Linked DNA regions of Homo sapiens: region 1 is linked to region 2. Evidence: promoter capture Hi-C in 16 types of primary human blood cells and fetal thymus (Javierre and others, 2016). All regions are on one chromosome and are shown on one strand. Each heading gives the region's core, a stretch centred on a gene start or on the middle of the fragment in contact. The rest is flanking DNA. Distances are from core to core; before and after follow the strand shown.

Evidence for each region. Contacts are between HindIII fragments. The CHiCAGO score rates a contact against its expected background, and 5 or more counts as called.
Region 1: the fragment with the promoter of MCCC2 here is called in contact with the fragment with the promoter of SGTB in region 2 in 4 of 17 cell types (naive B cells, activated CD4 T cells, naive CD8 T cells and 1 more); the score reaches 11.1 in naive B cells.

The regions. Positions count from the first base shown.
Region 1 is chr5:71,585,011-71,589,362 of GRCh38, forward strand. MCCC2 (methylcrotonyl-CoA carboxylase subunit 2) reads left to right here and starts at 2,330. Exons shown (of 17, transcript NM_022132.5): 1 at 2,330-2,544. The coding sequence starts at 2,416. RefSeq lists an enhancer at 1,989-2,775. The HindIII fragment of the contact is 6,273 bases long and covers 1-3,627 here.
Region 2 is chr5:65,719,981-65,724,170 of GRCh38, forward strand. SGTB (small glutamine rich tetratricopeptide repeat co-chaperone beta) reads right to left here and starts at 2,129. Exons shown (of 11, transcript NM_019072.3): 1 at 1,937-2,129; 2 at 728-849. The coding sequence starts at 827. NLN (neurolysin) reads left to right here and starts at 2,225. Exons shown (of 13, transcript NM_020726.5): 1 at 2,225-2,434. The coding sequence starts at 2,394. RefSeq lists silencers at 1,700-1,749, 1,810-1,859, 1,930-2,539 and enhancers at 2,816-3,637, 3,410-3,489. The HindIII fragment of the contact is 2,154 bases long and covers 1,125-3,278 here.

The DNA of each region.
Region 1 (4,352 bases), core at 1,080-3,579, 5.9 Mb after region 2:
TTCCAAAGAGCTTCTTGTAACAAAAGTTACAAGAAATAAGAAACATGTATGACTTTTTTTTTTTTTTTTTTTGAGACAGAGTCTTGCTCTGTCACCCAGGCTGGAGTGCAGTGGTGCCATGTCGGCTCACTGCAGACTCTGCCTCTCGGGTTCCAGCGATTCTCCTGCCTCAGCCTCCCAGGTAGCTGGGATTACAGGCACGTGATACTATGCCTGGCTAATTTTTGTATTCTTAGTAGAGATGAGGTTCCACCATGTTGGCCAGGCTGCTCTCAAACTTCTGACCTCAGATAATCCACCTGCCTTGGCCTTCCAAAGTGCTAGGATGATAGGCATGAGCCACTGCACCCGGCCAAAACAGGTATGACTTTTAAAGAAAGCAAGGAATCATATCCTATTGTGTCTTTTCTGTCTTCGGGTGGTGATTTTAAGTACTTTGCATCATTGAAGAACTATTTAGAGAAAAATAAAGTGTGGCAATTAAAATATCAAACCCTCTCTTCTGATACCCTGATACATATGAAAAGTCAGTTTTTACTGGCCTTTTTTTCTGTTGACCATGGGAGGCAAGCACAGTGTAAATCATACCTTTGCAGTTTAGCTCATGCTCTCCTCCATTTGCACAAAGCCTGGCCATGTTCATTGCTCAGTCCACTCTCAACGCTTCTGCAAGGCTCAGCTGCAACCCTTTCCCAATTGCATTCTGTTCCTTTAATGTCTGTCCTACACAGTTCAGTAAGAAATCATGTGGCCATTTGTATTATTTTCTTATAAGTACCTTGAAGTCTGAACCTAAGTTTACCTCCAGGTGTAGACGCACCCTTTCTCTACCCCATCCTCCCCCTTTACTCTGCCCCACTAAGCAACCAATGGAGTAGAAGTAGTAAGTGCTCAATAAATATGTGAATGAAAAACCTTAAGTTCAAGGCATTTTGTATAGAATGTTTTAATTTTTATGGGTATATTTGGAGTCCTTTATTTAAGACCACAGTGCTGATGTCCACAATCTGTCACTACATAGTGCCTGGTGTGGTGGCTCATGTCTGTAATCCCAGCACTTTGGGAGGCTGTGGCGGGCAGATCGCTTGAGTCCAGGAGTTCAAGACCAGCATAGCCAACATGGTGAAACCCCTACAAAAATAAAAAATTAGCCGGGCTTGGTGGCACAAACCTGTAGTCTCAGCTACTGGAAAGGCTGAGGTGGGAGGTCAAGGATTCAGCGAGCTGTGATCGTGCCACTGCATTGCAGCCTGGGCGACAGAGTGAGGCCCTGTCTCAAAAAATGAAATAAAGTAAAAAATAAAAATAACTACATAGCGAAAATAATCAGAAGAATGTTTAAGGTCTCCAGTGAAAGGACAACAGGCTTGTTGTGCTGTTCGCAAGCACGTGTTAGATGCGATTCACTCATGTTGTTGGTGTGTCACTGGGGGTTGTGACTGCAAGTTGTCCAGGTTCTTGGCATTGTGAACAAAGAATTGGACAAAACGCCCAGCAAAGCAAAGAAAGAACAAGGCAACGAAAGAACGAAAGCAGGGATTTACCGAAAACGAAAGTGCACTCCACAATGTGGGAGCGGACCGAGCAGAGCTCAAGGGCCCGGATATAGAATCTTCTTGGGTCCAAATACCCACTAGAAGTTTCCTATTGGCCATTTTATGCTCACCTCAAACCCGATTGGTTGCAAGAAGCAAGCAGTCAGAGGCTAGGGTGAAATTACAAAGTTATACTTCTATGCAAACGAAGACTGGACCCCCAATCAGTCTGATTGGTTGTGGACAGCAACCATTCAGAGGCTGGAGTTAAGGTTCAAACTTGGCAAAGCAAGCCTCCACCAGCAGTAAGTCTGATTTGTCGGGGACAGCCAATTTCCTATCTGCCCTGCGGAAAAGGTGGGGGGGTTTGCAAAGGGAGTAGCCTTTGGTCCTTTTGTTACTTAGGCATGGAAAGTTAGGGTTTTCCTTTCAGTTTAGCTCTAGGAAGTCAGCGTGAGACAGCCTTAGGTTCCCTGCTTCCAGACTTATTCTCCTGCCTTAGGTACAGTCACTATCGTGATATTATCTATCGCTGTGTCAACACAACACCAATCCAAGCCCAACCGCAGCTCTCTCACTGCCGCACCGCTTCGTGAGGGTCGATCCGCCGGGGAGACCTGCTCTCCTGCGCTCGGGACTAGACGCGACCTCGCGGGGCTGAGGCTCTGTCCCTTATTGGCTGGGTCAGGGGGCGTGGCGCGGCTTGACCAATCGCGGGCGGCGCGCTTAGGCACGTGTGTGGACAGGCCTGAGAATCAGAGAAACCTTCTCTGGGGCTGCAAGGACCTGAGCTCAGCTTCCGCCCCAGCCAGGGAAGCGGCAGGGGAAAGCACCGGCTCCAGGCCAGCGTGGGCCGCTCTCTCGCTCGGTGCCCGCCGCCATGTGGGCCGTCCTGAGGTTAGCCCTGCGGCCGTGTGCCCGCGCCTCTCCCGCCGGGCCGCGCGCCTATCACGGGGACTCGGTGGCCTCGCTGGGCACCCAGCCGGACTTGGGCTCTGCCCTCTACCAGGTAGGCTGAGCGCCCCGGTGGCCTGGCCGCCGGTGCCAGGCTAGGAAGCAAGTGGAGGAGGGGCACGCTTCAACAACTGCTGCTCTCTTGTCCGGAGCCCCAGTTGATTCTGTGACGCACGTGAAGTTTGAAGAAGAAAAGCCTAACAGATACAAGAAAGTTTAGTTCACTTTTAGAGCTGGCACTGTACTTTGTGTCTTTGAAATCAGTGGTTCTTAAAGCCTGGTTTAGAATTGCCACCTGGGGAGCTAGCTGAATAGCTGCCTGAGCCCTACTCTGGACCTTGTGGGTCTCAGGTGGAGTCGCTGTGTTTATATTGTTAGTGAACTCATTAGGGGACTTTTGGCAGCCAGCTTTGGGAACCACTGGCCTAGAGCAGCCCAACGAGGGGCGCTGTGCTTAGGAAATTTGAGTTTAAAAGTTGATTATGATGGCCGAGCCCAGTGGCTCACGCCTGTAATCCCAGCGCTTTGGGAGGCCCTGGCGGGTGGATTACCTGAGATCAGGAGTTCGAGAACAGCCTGGCCAACGTGGTGAAACCCCATCTCTACTAAGAATACAAAAATTAGCCGGGCATGGTGGCGCGCGCCTGTAATCCCAGCTACCTGGGAGGCTGAGGCAGGGGAATCGCTTGAACTTGGGAGGCGGAGGTTGCAGTGAGCTGAGATCGTGCCATTGCACTCCAGCCTTGGCAACAAGAGCGAACTCTGTCTCAAAAAAAAAAAAAAAAAAAAGTTGGTTATGTTAATAGAAAATATCCCACAGTATCTTTGAGTGGCTTTTCTTGGAATTAGGAGGCATCATAAGGCCAAAAAACTCAAAACTTGCGAAATATCAGAGCTGGAAAATTTCACTGTGTTCCCACGATTTCTAAGCCTATACAGATAACATCTAAATAGTGCAAACAACACACAATTGTTTGTCAGTCCAGAATGTTTAATTCAGAATTATTAAGTGGTTATTGTGGTCTAGGCACTATTTTAGATATTTGGCATGGATGCGTAGGAATGGAACTAATAATTTTGTAGGGAAGATGGACAAGAAAGCAGGTAACTGTGGTACAGTGTAAGAAGGGTTGTCTAAAGCTTGAGAAGGTGGTTACAGAAAGCTACCGATAGGAAGTAATGGGTGAGATGAATCTTGGGTAAGAGCTGGCCAAGTTCAGGGTGCAGGATGGAAGGTAAGACTGTATAAACCAAGAGAGTTACAAGAACATAGGTACTGAGTTATGAAAGTGTATATCTGGTGTGAGGACTTGAATTCCATGTCTAGGACATGGAATTCATTGAATAGTGTCTGGTGATGGGATTGATTGATTATGGGGCCAGATAGAGGAGGATCTTCCATGCAAAAGCCACATTTAGATTCCATTTGGCAGGTTGTCCATTAAAATATTTAAGTAGATAAGTGGCATGATCCTATGGATATGGTAGAATCATCAGTGTGGTGGCAATGTGGAGGATGGATTGATATAGGGAAAAGACTAGACCTAGGTGACAGTGGAGAGTTGAGTCTTGAGATGAAGGAGTCAAAGTTAGAGTTGTATGTAGGAGGGGGGCATAAATACCTGAGGAGCAAAGATTATAGAGTTAATAACTGAGTGGAAGGGGAAAATGGATGACTTTGGAGTTTCCAACTGGGCAGAATATTTAGTTAGGTGGAACTGCCATTAATACAAAGAAGGCTTTGGTGATGGGTTTTGTATGAATCACCTTTTGCTAGGTTGCGCTTTGTGTAACAAATAATCAAAAAATCTCAGTAACTCACAACAGTAAATATTAGTCTCTCACTTGATTTTGTTTTGTTTC
Region 2 (4,190 bases), core at 879-3,378:
GACAACAAGATCTTCAGAGTATTAACCAGGATTTAAATCTCAGCTTTATCACATATCAGCTGTGTTATCTGCTTACGCTATTTGGTTTCATTTTCTTTTTCTTTTTTTTTTTTTTTTTTTGAGATAGGGTCTCGCTCATGGCCCAGGCTGGAGTGCAGTGGTGTGATCTCAGCTCACTGCAACCTCCACCTCCTGGGTTTAAGCCACCCTCCTATCTCAGCCTCCTGAGTAGCTGGGACTACAGGCAAGTGCCACCACACCTGGCTACTTTTTGTATTTTTAGTAGAGACAGGGTTTTGCCATGTTGCCCAGCCTGGTCTTGAACTCCTGACCTCAAATGACCTACCTGCCTCGGCCTCCCAAAGTGCTGGGATTACAGGCATGAGCCACCAAGCCTGGCCCTGGTTTTATTTTCTCACTTGTTAAATGGGGATAATACTAACATAACAGTTGCTGTGAAGAAAAAATTGCCTATAATATGAACAGCATACTTCTGACATATAGTATTTGTTCAATAAATGAACAATAGTCCTCTTAATTTGTTGTTAAAACAAACAAAACAAGCTTCAGAAAATGGAAATACGATAACCTTATAGTCAGGCCTCTCCTCTTGAAAGATCAAAAAAAATTCTGATTATGTTACAATAGATCATCAAGTTGGGCTTACAGCTATTTTAGTCTTCGTTTATAATTATAATATAAATGAACACAAAGAGCAGATGCATACCTTCCAAACTTTCTTGTTCATCCGAGGTGTAAGTGTCCATCTGACTTTGTTCCCGTAAGAAACGAATAACTGCATAAACCAGGTGCTTGATAGATGACATTTTAGAAGCTTAAACACTTTTCCTTGATAAGAAAAATGAAAACACTGAACTAAGTTATTTTAAAGAATCAGTCAGGAAAGTCATAAATTACAAAGATGATATGGGTTATAAAGTGTATTAAAGGTAAAAACAAAACACAAAACTGTATGACCTTTCATCTTTTCTCTTTGTAAAGAGTCAGGAGAGCACAAAGTATTGTGAAGGTAATTTATTACATATTTTCATTAATACCCAGTGGTATACGAGTATGTTAAATCTTGGAATAAGTAAAAATGTCTTCAAAACATGTACAGCATAAGCTTAGACTGTCACTGCATATCTCACCATACAGAAATCCCCTAAAGGCCTCAGTACTAAGTTAAGAGGCATTTCATACTGCTGACTAAAAGCTGATGTATACCAAGCATCTTCCTCTTTTTCATGGGATCTAAAAAAAGTATTAATAATGTACACTCTACCCACTTTTGTAGGTTGAGAGTTATTTGATGAGGAAACACATTCGCGAAAGGTTATTCAAGTGGTGAGTGTCGTTCTTAATAAAAATGGCATTTCTATTTAATCAGCAGACATGTCAGGAAATCGCTGCCCAAGTCGATGGATACTACAAGCCGACCGGCGCTCCCTGCAGAGGCTGTGCTCTCGTGGACAAGCTGGAAGCTCCCGGTCATGTTCATTCACATGGAATACTATCGCATCCAAACAGTGGCGCAGGGCCAGGCGGCATTCATGGCTGATTTCCACCAAATCGCATCATCCATCTGCTCCCCAGGTTCCCTAATTCAAAGCCAGGGTGTGGTACCCGCCGCTATAATGTTTATTATTTGTGTAGTTATTTTAAAGGCGATGTCAGCCTCTAGGCCACGGGGTCATAAGCACTAAATAAGGCCCCAGGGCAGAAGGTAAAAACAGAATGGGGGGAAAAGGGGTGAGAAGAGGGAAATAGGCTTCTCCCCCTTCCTCTCCCCAGAGCGCATCGAGCTCCCCCTCCCTTCCGTCCTCCCTCAGGTACCCGGCCTCGCCTCGGCCCTGCCCGGTGTGCAGCGGGTGCCGGTGCGGGCCCCGGTCCGGAGCGGCGGGAGGCGCACCCTTGCCAGACAGAAGCCCCTTACCAAGCAGGAGGACGCGAGACGACTGCTGCTGGCCCGCGGGGTTCCGTAGGCAGGCCCGCCCGACCCCTGGTCCTCGGGGCTGGAGCCCGGCTCGGGATCGCAGCACTGGTCGCGGCGGCGCAAACTTCCCCGGCCCCTAGGCCGTAGACCCCAGAACCCACCAGGCTGTGCTCTCTCTCAGGCGGCAGGGTCTGGCCAGCACCGCCCCTGGGGCGGGGCCGGACGCGAGGGCTGGGGCGGGGCCAGACACGCGAGCTGGGGCGGGGCACGGCGCGGGGCGGGGCTGGTAGGCGCCGGCGTGGAGCTGCCGCACGTGGGAGGGCGCTGGCCAGGCAGCCACTGTGGCCTCTGCGGCTAGGCCGGCTCGAGACTCCCGGGCGCCCAGGCGCTGCCGCCCGCCTCGCCGCCCCACGCCGAAGGACCACGCGCCCGCCGCCGCCAGCCTCTCAGCGCTCCCATGATCGCCCGGTGCCTTTTGGCTGTGCGAAGCCTCCGCAGGTACCTCCAGCGCGCGGGTTAACCTTGGCCGTGGGCAGGGCGGGGTCTTTCGCCGTGTGGTGCCTGGAGCCCGGACCCACCCCTTCCCGACCGCGCCTCTCCGACGCTCCCGGGACGCACCCTCCCCGCGGCTTGCAAGGTGGACCCCTGGGGGACACCTGGCGCGGCCACCTGGGGCCACCTTTCCCGCCTCCGCTCCCTCGGGAGGACGTCCATTCCTCTTTGTTTGGGACTGCCTCAGCCGCAGTCAGCGAGGCTGGTCACAGACGCGGCCCAAAATGAATGCAAATAGTTTGGATAAGAAAATCATTTCACGTTCAATCCCAATGCAGAACTACAGACCTGTCATTAAAAGTGCCGCAGCTGTGGACTCAGAACAATTGTGTTTGCTCCTCGCGCCCATTATTAGCATTCCAATCGTTTAACATCCACCCGAGATGAAACCTCTTTGGTGGTGTTGCTTGTTTCCGTCCATGCTCTCTGACTTCCTTTTTTATTTTCCTCCTCCCCATAAAACAAACATTCTGCCTCTTGCCGGTGCAAATTGACTTGGCCCAAAATGGAGAAAATGATCGCTTGGACACGGCTTTGGGCAGCCTGAGCTGCTGTTTTGGATTGCTTCCTAGCCCTCTAACCACACCCCACTGCAACAGACCAGTAGCAAGATGGTGAGGGAATTAAATTCTTTGCACGGATGCGCTGGTTTTCGGAAACAATGCCGCCACCATCCCCGTTTCCAAATCTGCCCAGAACTGTAAATCCAAATGAAGATTCAACAGAATAAAGAAAATGTGTGCTTCTTGCTAGCTATCAACAAAACTACTTTGTAACATGTCAGCATTTAAGCTTTCTACAGTTCCCTTTTGCACATTGCCACTCGTCTGTGTGGATGGAGCTTTGTGTTGCTCAGTCCGTAGAGTTAGGGAGCAGGCAGGCGACAGTGGTTAATTACAAAGAGTTAATGTGGTGATTGGTGACCATATTTCAGCCTGTCGTTTTTTGCTAGTCTCCAGGCTGCAATCGATATAGCTGTCAAATGAAGTTATACCAAGAAATGAAGACTTCACATAATGCAGGGGTGAGAGGAGGGAATAAATCTTCATATAAGAGCAATTCTCGGCCGGGCGCTGTGGCTCATGCCTGTAATCCCAGCACTTTGGGAGGCCGAGGCGGGTGGATCACGAGGTCAGGAGATCGAGACCATCCTGGCTAACACGGTGAAACCCCGTCTCTACTAAAAAATACAAAAAATTAGCCGGGCGTGGTGGCGGGCGCCTGTAGTCCCAGCTACTCGGGAGGCTGAGGCAGGAGAATGGCATGAACCCGGGAGGCGAAGCTTGCAGTGAGCCGAGATCGCACCACTGTACTCTAGCCTGGGCGACAGAGCAAGACTCCGTCTCAAAAAAAAAAAAAAAAAAAAAAGAACAATTCTCAAACTTTTTATTCTCAGGACCCCTTTACCTTTCAAAAATTACCGTGGACCTAAGAGCTTCTGTTTGTGTGGTATATCTGTCTATATTTACCATATTAGACATTAAAGCTGGAAAAAAATTAAAGTAGTTGTTAATTTACAAAACTAATAAATAGGCTAGGTGCATAAATAGTGATTTTAATGAAAAATAACTATTTTCCAAACCAACCCCCCCGCCCCCCAATCAGTGAGAAGATTAACATTGTGGGGTTTTTTCCCTTTTTTTTAAAATTGTGGTAAGATATAACAAAATTTACCATTTTGATAATTTTTAAGTGTACAATT